2 separate regions of the Homo sapiens genome follow, and region 1 is linked to region 2. Evidence: promoter capture Hi-C in human tissues and cell types (Jung and others, 2019). All regions are on one chromosome and are shown on one strand. The core of a region is centred on a gene start or on the middle of the fragment in contact, and the rest is flanking DNA. Distances in the headings are between cores, read along the strand shown. Region 1 has its middle 63 kb from the start of RDUR. Region 2 holds the start of RPL24 (ribosomal protein L24).

Evidence for each region. Contacts are between HindIII fragments. The study calls those that stand out against the background at their distance.
Region 1: a fragment that was not itself captured here is called in contact with the fragment with the promoter of RPL24 in region 2 in 1 of the 25 tissues and cell types used here (lymphoblastoid cells).

The regions. Positions count from the first base shown.
Region 1 is chr3:101,999,696-102,007,190 of GRCh38, forward strand. No RefSeq gene overlaps it. Among named protein-coding and RNA genes, the nearest start is that of RDUR, 63 kb to the left of the region's middle. The HindIII fragment of the contact is 6,844 bases long and covers 2,269-7,495 here.
Region 2 is chr3:101,685,321-101,692,461 of GRCh38, forward strand. It overlaps RPL24 (ribosomal protein L24), which reads right to left and starts at 1,398. Exons shown (of 6, transcript NM_000986.4): 1 at 1,352-1,398; 2 at 1,162-1,237; 3 at 498-608. The coding sequence starts at 1,356. LOC124906262 (endogenous retrovirus group K member 5 Gag polyprotein) reads left to right here. Exons shown (of 3, transcript XM_047449415.1): 2 at 1-2,069. The coding sequence starts at 2,059. RefSeq lists enhancers at 795-984, 975-2,174, 1,145-1,634, 1,645-1,694, 2,605-3,158 and 1 more. The HindIII fragment of the contact is 8,226 bases long and covers 1-3,475 here.

The DNA.
Region 1 (7,495 bases), core at 4,441-6,940, 320 kb after region 2:
TAATAGATTTTGCAGATAGGAGGTACAAAGAGGGTGTAGTGTGAGAACAAAGGCACTGGGAGTGGGCAAGTGACAGATCAGAGGAAGACTAGGTGGCAAGACTGGGCAGAGAAAAAGTACAATATTCAGGCTAGGAGGGCAGGCAACTACAGCTTGAGAATATCACAAAGCCCCTAAGGCAAGACTATGAACTTGATATGGGGTTTCCCAGTATTCCACCTTGCACATGAATAAATCATTTCATCTATTCTGAAGTCTCAAGTATCTAACCAGAAATTTCATTTGAAATGGAAAAGTCAGAAATCGTCCCCACCCTCTAACTGATTTGTTCATGGCAGTTTCTATACTGAAGCAACATGTCAAGCCTGGCATAGATTGCATGGGTTGCCTAAGGAGAGTGAATGCCCAGGATCCATCTCTGGGCCACTCAAAATGTAATCATATCGAGACAATGAGGAGCCTATAAAGAGTATCTAATAAAAGAAAACACAGTGGAACCAGGGAAAAATCTGGAAAGAGTGGTCTCATGAAAGCCAAAAGAGGAGAGTTTCAAAGAGTGAATTGTGGACTAATTGGGAAATGGAATAACATGTATAGAGAAATGTGTCTATTGGATTTGGAAACATGCAACAGTTTCATGTGCATGATTTGGAAGGAAGCCAGATTAGAGTGGGTTTGTCCATTAACTGATTCATGATGTTCACACATATTTCTTTGAGTACCGAACATGCATCAGATATTACTTCGGTTGTTGGGGGAATCATTGGTGCAAAAGCAAGCATGATTCTTTACGGGATCATGGTAGCTTATGTGGGAAGACAATTTTCCAATCACATTACTTCTAGGTTCCTGGCCATCTAGCCAAACCATAGGTCACAGCCCTTGAACTGGTATATAATCAACTATTTGGCTATTTCTCCTTCCAAGCAATGAACAGTCAGGTGCACTGCTCAGATTTCTGCCCCCTGGGAAAATTTCCTTTCACTACTTTCCTCCAGGAATGTTCCAAAGAGGGCCTGTTGTACTGTAGCCATCCACTTTCGAGTAGTGCCTGCATGTCATGTAGAACCATCTGCAAACCAGGCCCAAGTCTTCTGGTCTTCTGTCAGTTGATCATAGGGAACTCCCCATGAGGCCCTAGGTGCAGTCTGGGAGAGAGAAGTTAGCATAGCAGAAGTGGGAGCCACGGGCATTTGGGTCACTTCTTTATGTAATTTACTTATGCCTTCAGGGTCTTCTTGGGCTCCATCACTTATATTACTTCCATTTGATGATGGAGTACTGCTGTGCACACCCAACTTTATGGCTTGGTAGGCGAGATAATATCTAGTTTGTAATGGGGAGCTCAGATTGCATGGTAAGTTGGTGGCTCATAAGCATCCTGTCTCCACCAAGGCCCAGTAGCAGGCTAGGAGCTGTTTCTCAAAAGAGGAGTAGTCATCCACAGGGGATGGGCAGGTCTTTGCTCCAAAATCCTAAGGGCTTGTGCTGCAGGTGCTTGCAAAAGGCTTTAAACAGCATTCCTATCTGTCACTGACACTTCAAGCACAATTTGATCTGCTGGATCTTATGGTTAAAGTGCCAGAGCAGCTTGCATGGCAGCCTGGACCTGTTGTAGAGCTTTCTCTTGTTCTGAGCCCTTTTCAAACTGGCTGCTTTTTTGGGTCACTCAGCAAATGAGCCAGAGTAACACAGTCAAAAGAAAAATATGTTGCCTTCGAATTCAAAGAGGCTCACTAGTTGTTTTGTCACCTTTCCGGTCATACAAGGGTCCAGTTGCAACAACATACCCTTCACCTTAGAAGGGCTATCTCAACTTGCCACACACCACTGGAACCCTAGAAACTTCACTGAGGTAGATACCTGAATTTTTCTTGGATTTATTTCCCTCCCTCTGACACTCAAATGTCTTACCAAGATATCTAGAGTTGTAGCTACTTCTTGGTCGCTAGACCCCATTAGCATAAAGTCATCAATGTGTTTGGTCAGTGAAATAAAAGGGAAGGGAAGAGTGGAAGAGAAGAGTGATTAAGAATCTTGCAAACAGCTGGGCATGGTCATTCATGCCTGTAATCACAGCATTTTGGGAGGCCAAGGCGGGCTGATCACTTGAGGCCAGGAGTTCAAGATCAGCCTGGCCAATACAGTGAAAACCTGCCTCTACTAAAAATACAGGAAATTAGCTGGGTGTGGTGGTGCACATCTGTAATCCCAGCTACTTGGGAGGCTGAGGCACAACAATTGCTTGAACCTGGGAAGTGGAGGTTGCAGTGAGCCAAGGTTGCACCACTGTACTCCAGCCTGGGTGACAGGGTGAGACTCTGGTCTGAAAAGGAAAAAAAAAAAAAGATTCCTGCAAATGAAATTATGATATAGGGAAGAAGAGTTGATATATCCGTGAGGTGGGACAGTGAAGATGTACTGCAGGCTCTGCCAGCTGAAAGCATACTGCTTCTGGTGGTCTTTACTAATGGGTATCAAGAAATACCAGGAAAATACAAGGTGTCAGGGGATGTGTTGGTGTGTTCAAGTTATGAAACCACACCTGGTATAGCAGCTGTAGTTAGAGTCACTGTACTAATCTCACAATGATCTGTCATTCATCTGTCTTTTACAAAGGCCAAATAGGTGAGTTGAATGAGGATATGGTGGGAATCACCACCCCTGAATCTTTCAAGTCCTTAATGGTGGACTGATCTCTGCAATCCCTCCAGGAATGTGGTATTGCTTTTGGTTACTATTTTCTTAGATAGAGGCAGTTTTAGTTGCTTCCATCTGTCCCTTTCTACTGTAGTAGCCCTTACACCATAGGTCAATGAACCAATGTGGGGAGGCTGTCACCTGATGAGTATATCTACTCCAATTATACATTCTGGAACTGGGAAAATAACTACAGGATAGGTTCAGGGGCATACCAGGCCACTGTGATATAGACATGAGTTAAAACTCCATTGATTAGCAGACCGCCATAAGCCCCTTCTCTGACTGATGAAACACAGTGATGTTTGAAGTGTCCTGGAATTAGTGTCAGTTCAGAGCCAGTGTCCAGTAGTCCCTGAAAGGTCTGATTTCCCCCTCCCCTCAGTACATACTTACCTTTGTAAAAGACTATAGATCTCTTTGGGAGAAAGATTAACAGTCTAAATATTTGGCAGTGTGCTATGTCCTTCCTCAAGGGGAACCAGCTTCCCCTTTATTCAAGGGGGCCTTGATCTGTAAATTGGCTCATCAGAAGGTTAATTGAGGGCCTGTGCCTCCTTTGTTTTTTTGATTCACTTTAGAATTCGGTTCACTTGACCTAGATCTTTTCTGCTTACATAGATGAAGTAAGAATTTAGTAGGCTTCTTATCTCTTTAGCTTGTAGGAACACCATGATCATTTAGTCAATCACACAGGATGATTACTGCTTTGACTCTGCTCTTCATCATGGTGACCACACTCACCTTGCCTTTGGTGGTTACTGAGGGCTGCCGCTTGGCTTCTGCCACCCTGGGATCCAATTACTACTGTTGTATTTAGATTTCCCAATTCAGGGGCTGCAGTTCCCATTGCAGGATCTGGTCTACAGAGAAGAGTGATTGTACAGCTCTTCAAATGTTAGAGCTCCTCTCAAAAATGTATTTCTCACAGTTGTGGTGAAAGTTATGTCTTCTGGACCCTGCCAGGGTGGGTGAGTAGACCTTAAATGACAAATTTACTCCAAAATTCCAATCTTTCTGGGCCTTTGAATCCCTTTCTCTACATTAAACCAAGGCAAGTCCAGCATTTCTAACACACTGTGGGCCACCTTTTGGTCCATGTTTTAGCCAACCACACAAACTGTTAGAGCCCTTTCTATTTCCCTGAGCTGCAACATTAAGTGCAGAATCTCTGCTTAGTGGGCTCATATCAATAAATTTAGCCTCATCCAACTTTATGTTCCTTCCACCATTATACCACACCCTTAATATCCATTCCCACATATATTCCCCAGATTTCTGTTTGTACAAATTAGAAAACTCAAGTAGTTATTTTGGAGTGTAGCACACCTCAAGGGTCACACTTTGTACCTCACCATTAGGGTCCTGCTGAGACTTGAGTCTAGGTGTAAGTCTAAAATTCAAAGGGGTTTTGGGGATAAGTCCTGAGGAGAATCGGCATTGCCTTGTTAGGCAATGGACTCAGAGGAGGCCATTACCTTTTCCTCAGACAATGCAGGGTTAATCCCTATAGATGAGGGTGGAGAGGATGCTTCTACTGGCAAAGAAGACTCATCAGAATTTGGAGGATTTTTGTCCCTCGCTCCATTAGGTTCTTCCCACATATTCCCATTGCAAATTCAGGATCCCGTTCTTTCCTAATCGATACCTTCATTCTATCAGTGGACAGAATAACCAAATAAACTTTTTAAAAAAGAGATATATAAATGGTGTTGACAAATATGGCTTACCAGGTATCAAAGCATAAAATAATGTTACAGGAATTAAAGAAGTATGTCTCAGGCTGAGTGCGGTGATTCATGTCTGTAATCTCAACACTTTAGGAGGCCAAAGCAGGAGGATCACTTGAGGCCAGATGTTTGAGTCCAGTCTGGTTAACATAAAAAGAACATGTCTCTTAAAAAACAAAACAAAAAAACCAAAAAAAACAAAACACCCAAAACAAGTATGTCTATGGCTTCCAGATAAGCAAATAGATGAGTGGACCAAAATAGAGATTCCACATCAGACTCATGCATATATGAATGAGTAATACTTTTAATGAGTAGCAAAATGAAGAATCACAAATACTTCATCTTTACCTAGAATGGATAACAGTGGATATTGATTATATATATTTACCTTCATCACCTGGACATTCCTCAGAACATCAGAGAATAGGAGACAAATCCTACAAATATTCAGCGTCCTATCACATCAATAAAATGTTTAGGAGTTTAGTGGCCTGGAGCATGCCAGGACATTACTTCCAAAATAAAGGGCAGATTATTGTACTATGTACTTCCTATCAAGAAGGAAAACAATACATGATAGGCTGGGAAAGTAATTTGCATTGTAATTCAGTCACAGGATACAGAGCTTGGGTATGGTTTCAGTTACGTCAGTTCTGCAGCTACAGGAGATAAATGTCTTAGGGCAGATATAGAAGTTTTCATGTCATTTTTATGCAAAAAACTTTAATGCTTGAGCTCATCCTTTTCTTTCTCCATTTTGTTCAGTGACAAGGAACAACCAGGCAATCTCATTATACTTGTTAGTTTGACAACAATGCTCAAAAATATTATATACATGGTCACTAGATGCTTGCTTCTTATAAGTGTTTGGTTGGGAGTATTCAGTGGTAATATTTTGTGTACCTCTATTATTCGTGATAGTCCAGATCACGCTAGGGACTACCAATGCTATTTTTACTACTGGAAATAGAGTCACTCGTATCTTTAAAACTAGCCAGATTAGAGAGCCAATTTCAGAAACTCTAGAACCAATTCAGAAAATTCATCCTGCAGATTCTGTTCCTCTGGAACCACTTTCAGAACCAAAATCTGTTACTAGTCAGCATTCTGCAGAGAAGCTGAATTAATTATCTCTATCTATCTATTATCTATTTTCTATCTATCTATCTATCTATCTATCTATCTATCTATCTATCTATCATCTATCTATCTATCTACCTATCTAATCTATTTACCTATTTCCTAAAAGATTTATATTTATCTTAAGATATTGGTTATAAGGAATCAACTGACGATTTTGAAGACTGGCAAGTCCAAAATCTGCAGAGCTCATGTCTCAGTTAGAAGGCTGTCAGGCAGGAGAATTCTTTCTTGGAAGAGGTCAGTCTTTTTCTACTGAGGCTGTCAGCTGATTGGATGAGGCTCACTTACATTGTGGAGGATCATCTGCTTTACTTAATCTATTGATTTAAATATCAATCTCATCCCAAAACATCCTTATGAAAAGACTCAGAATGCTCTTTGACCAAATATCTGTGCATCCCATGGCCCAGTCAAGTTGACACATAAAATGATCATAGTGAGCTAGTCACATGGTAATTGCTATGTGACCACATATATGAGTTGGTGCAGTAGTGGTGGATGACAATGACATGCAGATCTAGGCTAGCTGCTCATGTGTCCTTTTTGAACTCTCTGGCTTTGTTCATGCTAAATCCCAGATGTGGCACTTGCACATTTTAATGGCCTGCTTCTGGTTCCATCTGACCTTATGATTTTGTGGATCTGACAGCTCATGATCAGTAGTTCTGGCCACTTGTCCACTTAATGTCCCACGAACAAGCTATTCATCTCTACTAGAGTTCAGTGGAACAGCAGAATCTGTCATTTGTAAGCTGAGTAATTCTCCACTGCAGGGAGCATAATCTTGCTCTCTCATTAGTGTTTGTCATAAACTTTGCACAACATCTTTCCCCACTAATGATGTCTCTAATGCAATAATGACTACTGGTTATATAATTTAAAAAGCAGGGCCACTTGTACCAGAATCTAGTCCTATTTCATAGCTTTTCTCTGCTCGAGGTCCTACTCAAAGCTGGAAGCCTTTCATGTATCCTAGTGAATGGGTAGAACCAATATCTTAGATATGCAATACACTATCTCCAGAACTTGAACAAGTCTATTAAGGGTTGTATTCCTTCTTGGTGGGAGGTGCAAAGTACAAGAATCTGTCCTCTACTTCGGAGGTAACATCATGGCATACTTCAGGCCACTAGCCCCCTAAAAAATTTATTGATGTGACAGGCCCCTGAATATTTGTAGGATTTATCCTCTACCCTCTGTTGCTCTGATGGATGCCTAGGTGATCCGGTAAATGTATATAGTCAATATCCACTGTTATCCATTCTAGGTAAATGTGAAGTGTTTGTGAACTTTTAATTTTGATAGAGTCGGAAAATAATGCATTTATTAGATATATTTTAGTAACATTTATGGAACATTCCTTCATTTTACTACTTGTCAAAAATGTTAATTCTTATATTCATAAGTCTTATTTGTAATTTCTATATTGGTCCACTCATCTTTTTGCTAAATTTAGGGCAGATATATACTTCTTGAATTCCTGTAACATTATTTTATGCTTTGATACCTGGTAAGGCATGTTTCCCCACACCATTTATATATTTCTTTCTAAAAAAGGTTTTTGGTTATTTTTGCAAATTTTTTATTCCACAAACACTTTGAGATTAGTTTGAAAAGTTCCAAAAAAGAAAGCTGTGGTGGAAATTTTGCTGGGATTAGACTAACTTTATAGATGATTTTACTGTTGAACAAATGACTCAAAGAATATGAATATATGAACATAAAAACTTAGAGGAAGTTTGAGTCATAGACACACTGATAATTTCTGATAGAAGTAAATAGACAAAACTCTATCTTTAAATAAATGTTCTAAAACTCAGCAGCCATATTTTTTTCCCTCTGATGGGGACAACCTTCTTCATGAGCTACAAAGGACATTTGCCCACAGTTTCTATTGAGGGGCTTTCTTAGCACTGTTT
Region 2 (7,141 bases), core at 148-2,647:
CAGTAAGTATTCCCAAGCCTCCTGAATACTAGTCCTACCATGGCACTCAAACTTTTTCTCATGTATAACCCAGCTAAAAGGACACTTAACAAGGACCAGAAAAACCACTGTTTTTCTAGTGAATGAACTAGTGTATGGTGGACTGGTTCATGGTCCACTGGCTATGTTAGGACTAATCCTGTAAATATTGCAATCAAAACCAAATTATGGTAACTTCTCAATTTCCTCCCACTGGAAAACTAAGCCCTTCCACCCTGCCCTATAACGCAAAGGTGCTTAACGTAATTTATCTGACTTTAAAATTTCAACTCGGTATTGCTACTAGCCTAAAATATATAGAGACAGTTTATAATATCTTTTTCATTTTGCTGACGCTTTACAGTTTAAGAGCTCTTTCGCATACAGTCTGATTTAATTTTACAGAGCAGAAAACCAACGTTCAGAGAGCTTTGACAACTTAAGAGATAGCCCCCAACATCAAGGCGTATTCCACTTACCGACTGTCCCTTTTTGTGCTTCCTTCTGTAGAGGACAGTCCAGTTTATCTGCCGAGGATTCCTCTTGGAAAGGAAAGCCGACTCGCATTTCGCATTAAGAAACTGGAAAACCTAGAGTGACAAATGCAAAGGAATTACTATTTAACTATACAAAGTACAAGAGGCTGAGTAAGCTTGGAATCCTTAGAAGATCAATATGCTAGTTCTGGCTTATCATTTTACAAAACTGAGGCCCACAAGGACCAAAAGGCTGTCACATAACTGGCAGGTAACTGTGTCACACTATGAAGGTCCTTGCGTTTAGTCTTTTCTCGAGAGCAGGAAATCTAGGCTCATAGCAAAGGACAGGGTGGTGCGTCCTTCTGGGAAGCATTCTGCTCTTGTCCGTCCCAGGATTCCAAAGGGTACCTCCGTACCTCAGTTATTTCCCTTACACCGGGACATCAGTTACATAAACCCCTCCTGATGTCCGACCTGGCTCACAATAAATAATCAACACTGGTTCACTTAGAGGTTTCTGGTCCTAACGACCAGTCCACAGAGCGTCCACGAAGACTTCCAGAGGCCAGTGGTGATGTGGGGAATAAACCCGCCTAAACCGAATTAAACCAGCCTTTCCTCCTCGGAGTACAAGAAGGTAGGTGAAGCCGACGCGGCTTTTTACCTTCCCGTCGGTCCTGGCGTAGCGCCTCCCGTGTCCGGGGTAGATCTTGTACCCGCTAAAACTGCACAGCTCGACCCTGCAACAAAAAGTGAAAGTCCATCAGGGAGGGTGTCTACAGCCATGCCAGGGACGACAGAGAGGAGTTCTGCCCGAGGATGTAAGCGGATTGGGAACCACGGGTCGTGCTTACTTCATGGCGACAGCTCCACGGAAAGACAAAAGATGGCGAAAAGAAAGAGAGAATCATGGGAAGAGACCTTATAAGGTCGCTGCGGGGATGGGGGCCGGAAATCTCCTCCCCAATATCCTTCGATGCTCCTGGCCCTCCTTGATGACGTAATCATCGCGAGGCGAAAGATCTCGTTTTCCCTGACAGCTGACTTCCTCTGGCGCAATTCATCCAGAGGCGCTGGAGGGTTCTCGGGCCCAGAGGGCCTGCCAAAAAGGCAGTCAGACAGTTGGTTTATGAGTCATTCTGTCTCTGTCTCTCCTCTCTTTTTTTTTTTTGAGACGGAGTTTCGCTCTTGTTGCCCAGGCTGGAGTGCAGTGGCGCAATCTCGGCTCACCGTAACCTCCGCCTCCCAGGTTCAAGCGATTCTCCTGCCTCAGCCTCCCTAGTAGCTGGGATTACAGGCATGTGCCACCACGTCCGGCTAATTTTGTATTTTTCGTAGAGACGGGGTTTCTCCATGTTGGTCAGGCTGGTCTCGAACTCCTGACCTCAGGTGGTCCGCCCTCCTCGGCCTCCCAAAGTGTTGGGATTATAGGCGGGAGCCACTGCGCCCGGCCCATTCTGCCTCTCTTACTGCCAAGTATCCTAGAGCCATCTTCCGGCTGCAGGGAATGTGAACTGAAGAGAAAGGTGTCCTCTCTTCTCATAAAGAGACCCAAAGACGAATGCCCCGCAGGTAAAACCAGTCACATTTTGCCTTCCCTGTTGGCCCATTTCCTCAACCAAACAAATTAATAGTTTCACCATTTATAAGAAAGTAATGACAACCGAACCGTTTCTCAGGCTGTGCGAATCGAACAGTGCGCGTTGGCGCTTTGCATTAATTATAATTAACATTCTTTGAGCGCTTTCTCTGTGCCGGGAATTATGCCAAAGGCTTTTTAAACATGAGCTCATTCAGTTTCCAAAATTCCTATTAAGTACCTGCCTAAGAACTACAATTCGGAGTTGCTGCCTAGTGAAGTTGAGGGGGTCGGTGGAGCCCCGCTGGGAGGCCAAGGGCTCAATCTGTTGAGCCCTTCTATGATGCTACATATTTCATCGTATGACAAGGAGTGGCCAGAGGCAATTCTTGAATTCTGTGGGAGGTTGCAGTATATGACTAGGAAACAAATGTAATGACTGAGTTCTGCTTTCTATGTATGCAACTCACCCTAAAAACGTTTTGTAAGGTAGCTGGTTGAAGATATTTGGAATGTCTAACAAGTTGGCTGACTAATGTCATGAAAACTGTACAATTGTGTTGGAGCCAGTCTTTTTTTTTTTTTTTTTTCCTTGAGACGGAGTTTCGCTCTTTCATTCAGGCTGGAGTGAAGTGGCGCGGTCTCGGCTCACTGCAACCTCCGCCCTCTGGGTTCAAACGATTGATTCTCCTGCCTCAGCCTCCCGAGTAGCTGGGATTACAGGCGCCTGCCACCACGCTCGGCTAATTTTTGTATTTTTAGTAGAGATGGGGTTTCACCATGTTGTCCAGGCTGGTCCCAAACTCTTGACCTCAGGTGATCCACTCGTTCTCCCAAAGTGCTAGGATTACAGGCGTGAGCCACCGCGCCGGGCCTGGAACCAGTCTTAAGAATGATGTTAGGTGGCCAGTCATGGCGGCTCATGCCTGTAATTACGGCACTTTGGGAGGCCGAGGTGGGCGGATCACCTGAGGTTAGGAGTTCCAGCCCAGCCTGGTCAAAATGGTGAAACCCCTTCTCTACTAAAAATACAAAAATTAGCTGGGCGTGGTGGCGCACGCCTGTAATCCCAGCTCCTCGGGAGGCTGCGGGAGGAGAATCGCTTGAACCCGGGAGGCAGAGGTTGCATTTAGCCAAGATCGCGCCACTACACTCCAGCCTGGGCAAGAAGAGCAAAACTCCATATCAAAAAAAAAAAAAAAAAGGAGGCCGGGTGCAGCGGCTCACGTCTGTAATCCCGGCACTGTGGAATGCCGAGGCGGGCGGATCACGAGGTCAGGAGTTTGAGACCAGCCTGGGTAACACGATGAAACCCCGCCTCTACAAAAAAAAAAAAAAATTAGCCTGGTGTGGTGGTGCGCGCCTGTAGTCCCACCTACTCGGGAGGCTGAGGCAGGAAAATCGCTTGAACCCGGGAAGCGGAGGTTGCAGAGAGCCAAGATCGCACCACTGCACTCCAGCCTGGGCGACAGAGCGAGACTCCGTGTGAAAACAAACAAACAACAACAACAAAAAACCAAAACAAAACATCTTTCAGAAATAGTCCTGGCTTCTACAAGATCCAAGGCACAGCTGAGTTTAGGTAGCCGGTGGAACCAAGATCCACCTGAAGGAATGCAGTCCTTTTTTGTTCCACAGAACCTCAGAATTTATAGTCCCTTCCCAATATTTTAGAAAGATTTTGTTTTATTGTTCTTTAAAATTACGTTTGGCCTGACTGGTTCTGTGGAAGAAATGCAGGAAACTGGACCTTAGGGATTTTGGCTGTATTTCACTCTTTACTGGAGGGCCTTCTTGTCAGGGTTCCTTGTAACACACTCCCATAACAAACAAATTGTGCTCAAAATGCTCTTAGAATAGGGAGAAATTTTGCAGAGAGAGACCTCTAAATGAATTTATATTATACAGTGTCATAAAGTAGAGCTTCTGACACCATCCGTAAATTATTGCTGACTTTATCCATGCTTTTGCTTTTATCATAGGCAAAAGGTTCAGCTACACTCTATTCTCTTTTTATTCATTTATGGAGCAATACTGAACCAAACTTGGTGCCCTTTTCAGCCTCTGTCCCTGTGAGAACAGTGTGTTGCTTCCCTTCACAGTTTCGTCACCCATTTGTACATATTTCCCTGCTATATTAGTTTCCTGTAGTTGCTGTAACAAATTACTATGGACTTGGTAACAACACAGATACATATTTTCTCACAGTTCTGGAGGCAGTAAGTTCAAAATCAGTATCACTAGGCTGAAATCAAGGTATCTTTGTGCTCTCTGGATCAAGGATCTAAGGCAGAACGTGTTCCTTGCTCTTCCAATTTCCACTCATCTAAACCACTCTTGAATTCCTAACCCATAGAAACTGTTAGATCATAAATGTGTGTTGTTTTAAACTGTTTAGGGGAGTAATTTGTTAATATAGAAATAGGTAATATAGGAGGTAAGGAAAAATTGACAATGAGGACTTGGTGAATCGTGGTATCATTTGTCAAGAGTTGACAGATAAGAGGAAGGGAGTAGGTTTGTCAGGGAAAGGGTTAATTTTTTTTTTTTGGAGACTTGTTGCCCAGGCTGGAGTACAATGGCATGATCTTGGCTCACCACAACTTCCGCCTCCTGGGTTCAAGTGATTTTGCTGCCTCAGCCTCCCGAGTAGCTGGGATTACAGGCATGTGCCACCACACCCAGCTAATTTTGTATTTTTAGTAGAGATGGGATTTCTCCATATTGGTCAGGCTGGTCTCGAACTCCTGACCTCAGGTGATCCACCCGCCTCGGCCTCCCAAAGTGCTGGGATTATAGGCATGAACCGCTGCGCTCAGCCCGAAAGGGTTAATTTTGAAAAGGCTGGGTTCAAGATGCTGATAGGGATATTAAGGTACAACTGTGTAGTGGGAAGTTAAACATGTTCAGAAGAGTGTTTGTAATATGATTTATTTTATGTTTTAATTTTTTTTTGAGATAGGGCCTCACCTTGTCTCCCAGGCTGAAGTGCAGTGGATGATCAGGGTTCACTGCAGTCCCTACCTCCTGGGCTCAAGTGATCATCCCACCTCAGCCCCATGAATAGCTGGGACTATAGGTGTTTGCCACCATGGCCAGCTAATTTTTTGTATTTTTGGTGGAGATGGGGTTTCACCATGTTGCCTTGGCAGGTCTTGAACTGGACTCAAGCGAGCAGCCCACCTCAGCCTTCCAAAGTGCTGGGATCACAAGCGTGAGCCACCATGTCCAGCCAAGGATATATTTTAGTAGTAATGAACTTATGGTGACAGAATATGTGGGATAACGTCACCTACTGTCACAAGCTGGCTTCTCTGGAAACAGTTACTGAGACTGACTTTGGGGTTCAAGATATTTGTTACAGATCAAGTCTTGTGAAGGGAAGGGGGAGAAAACAGTGTTAGGCAGAGGAAGAAGTTGCATATGTTATAGGCCCAACTAAACCTCAGTCAGGCCGTGTGTGGTGGCTTATGCCTGTAATGCCAGCACTTTGGGAGGCCAAGGTGGGAGGATTGCTTGAGCACAGGAGTTTGAGGCTGAAGTGAGCTATGATCGCACCACTGCAATCAATCAATCAATAAACTTCAGTCAACCCTGCCAGGAGCTATGGAACAATTATTGTTTGTTGGAGTGTTCTGTGTTGGGCTAAATGTGAAGCCTCTTTATACTTCTACCTTACTCAGTCACCATATGGGGGCTGCCCCAGAGAGGTCATGACCTCAAGTGAGGAAGTACTCAGCAGCTGAGCCAGGCCCTACTGATAGCTGGAGGATGCTGCTGCCCATGCTGCCCACTGTGAGGCAGCAAGCCCTTGCTTGAAGGGGGATCTGGATAGTATGTTTCTGTGTCTACCACCCCTAGAAATGGTGCCTAGAGTGAGTCATCACAAAAAGAATCAGGATAGCTTGGTGTAGTGGCAGGTGCCTATAATCCCAGCTACTCAGGAGACTGTGGCAGGAGAATGACTTAAACCAGGGAGTTGGAGGTTGCAGTGAGGTGAGGTCACACAACTGCACTCCAGACTGGGTGACAGAGTGAGACTCCATCTCAAAAAAAAAAAAAAAAGAAAAGAAAAGAAAAAAGAAAAAGAATCAGGAAATACTAATATTTAAAGGATAGGTGAATGGAGGAAAATAATCAATTGAAGGAGGCTGAGCAGATGAGGTCAAAGAAGATAGAGATCCATAACAGTAACCTCATAGAAGCTTATGGAAGCATTTTGACAGTGCTAAAAGCCACATAAAGTTCAAGTAAGACAGTTTCAGAAATGTATAAACATGAATGCCTTTGCAGTGACTTAAGTGTGATTCTGTTGTTTCCTTCTAAAAATACTGCCTTCTCAGGTGTGGGAAGGATTCTATCTTTTTAGGCTTTACCACCATAGTTCTCTGCAGGCTTGCAATCCTGAATCAGGCTTGACTTCAGAAAGTGCTTTAAAAGGGAGGCTGGGCGCGGTGGCTCATGCCTGTAATCCCAGCACTCTGAGAGGCTGAGGTTGTGGGGAAAAGCAAGAGAGATCAGATTGTTACTGTGTCTGTGTAGAAAGAAGTAGACATAGGAGACTCCATTTTGTTCTGTACTAAGAAAAATTCTTCTGCCTTGAGATTCTGTTAATCTATGACCTTACCCCCAACCCCGTGCTCTCTGAAACAGGTGCTGTGTCAAACTCAGGGTTAAATGGATTAAGGGTTGTGCAAGATGTGCTTTGTTAAACAAATGCTTGAAGGCAGCATGGTCCTTAAGAGTCATCACCACTCCCTAATCTCAAGTACCCAGGGACACAAACACTGCGGAAGGCCGCAGAGACCTCTGCCTAGGAAAGCAAGGTATTGTCCAAGGTTTCTCCCCATGTGATAGTCTGAAATATGGCCTCGTGGGAAGGGAAAGACCTGACCGTCCCCCAGCCTGACACCCGTAAAGGGTCTGTGCTGAGGAGGATTAGTGTAAGAGGAAGGCATGCCTCTTGCAGTTGAGACAAGAGGAAGGCATCTGTCTCCTGCCCGTCCCTGGGCAATGGAATGTCTCGGTATAAAACCCGATTGATTGTACGTTCCATCTACTGAGA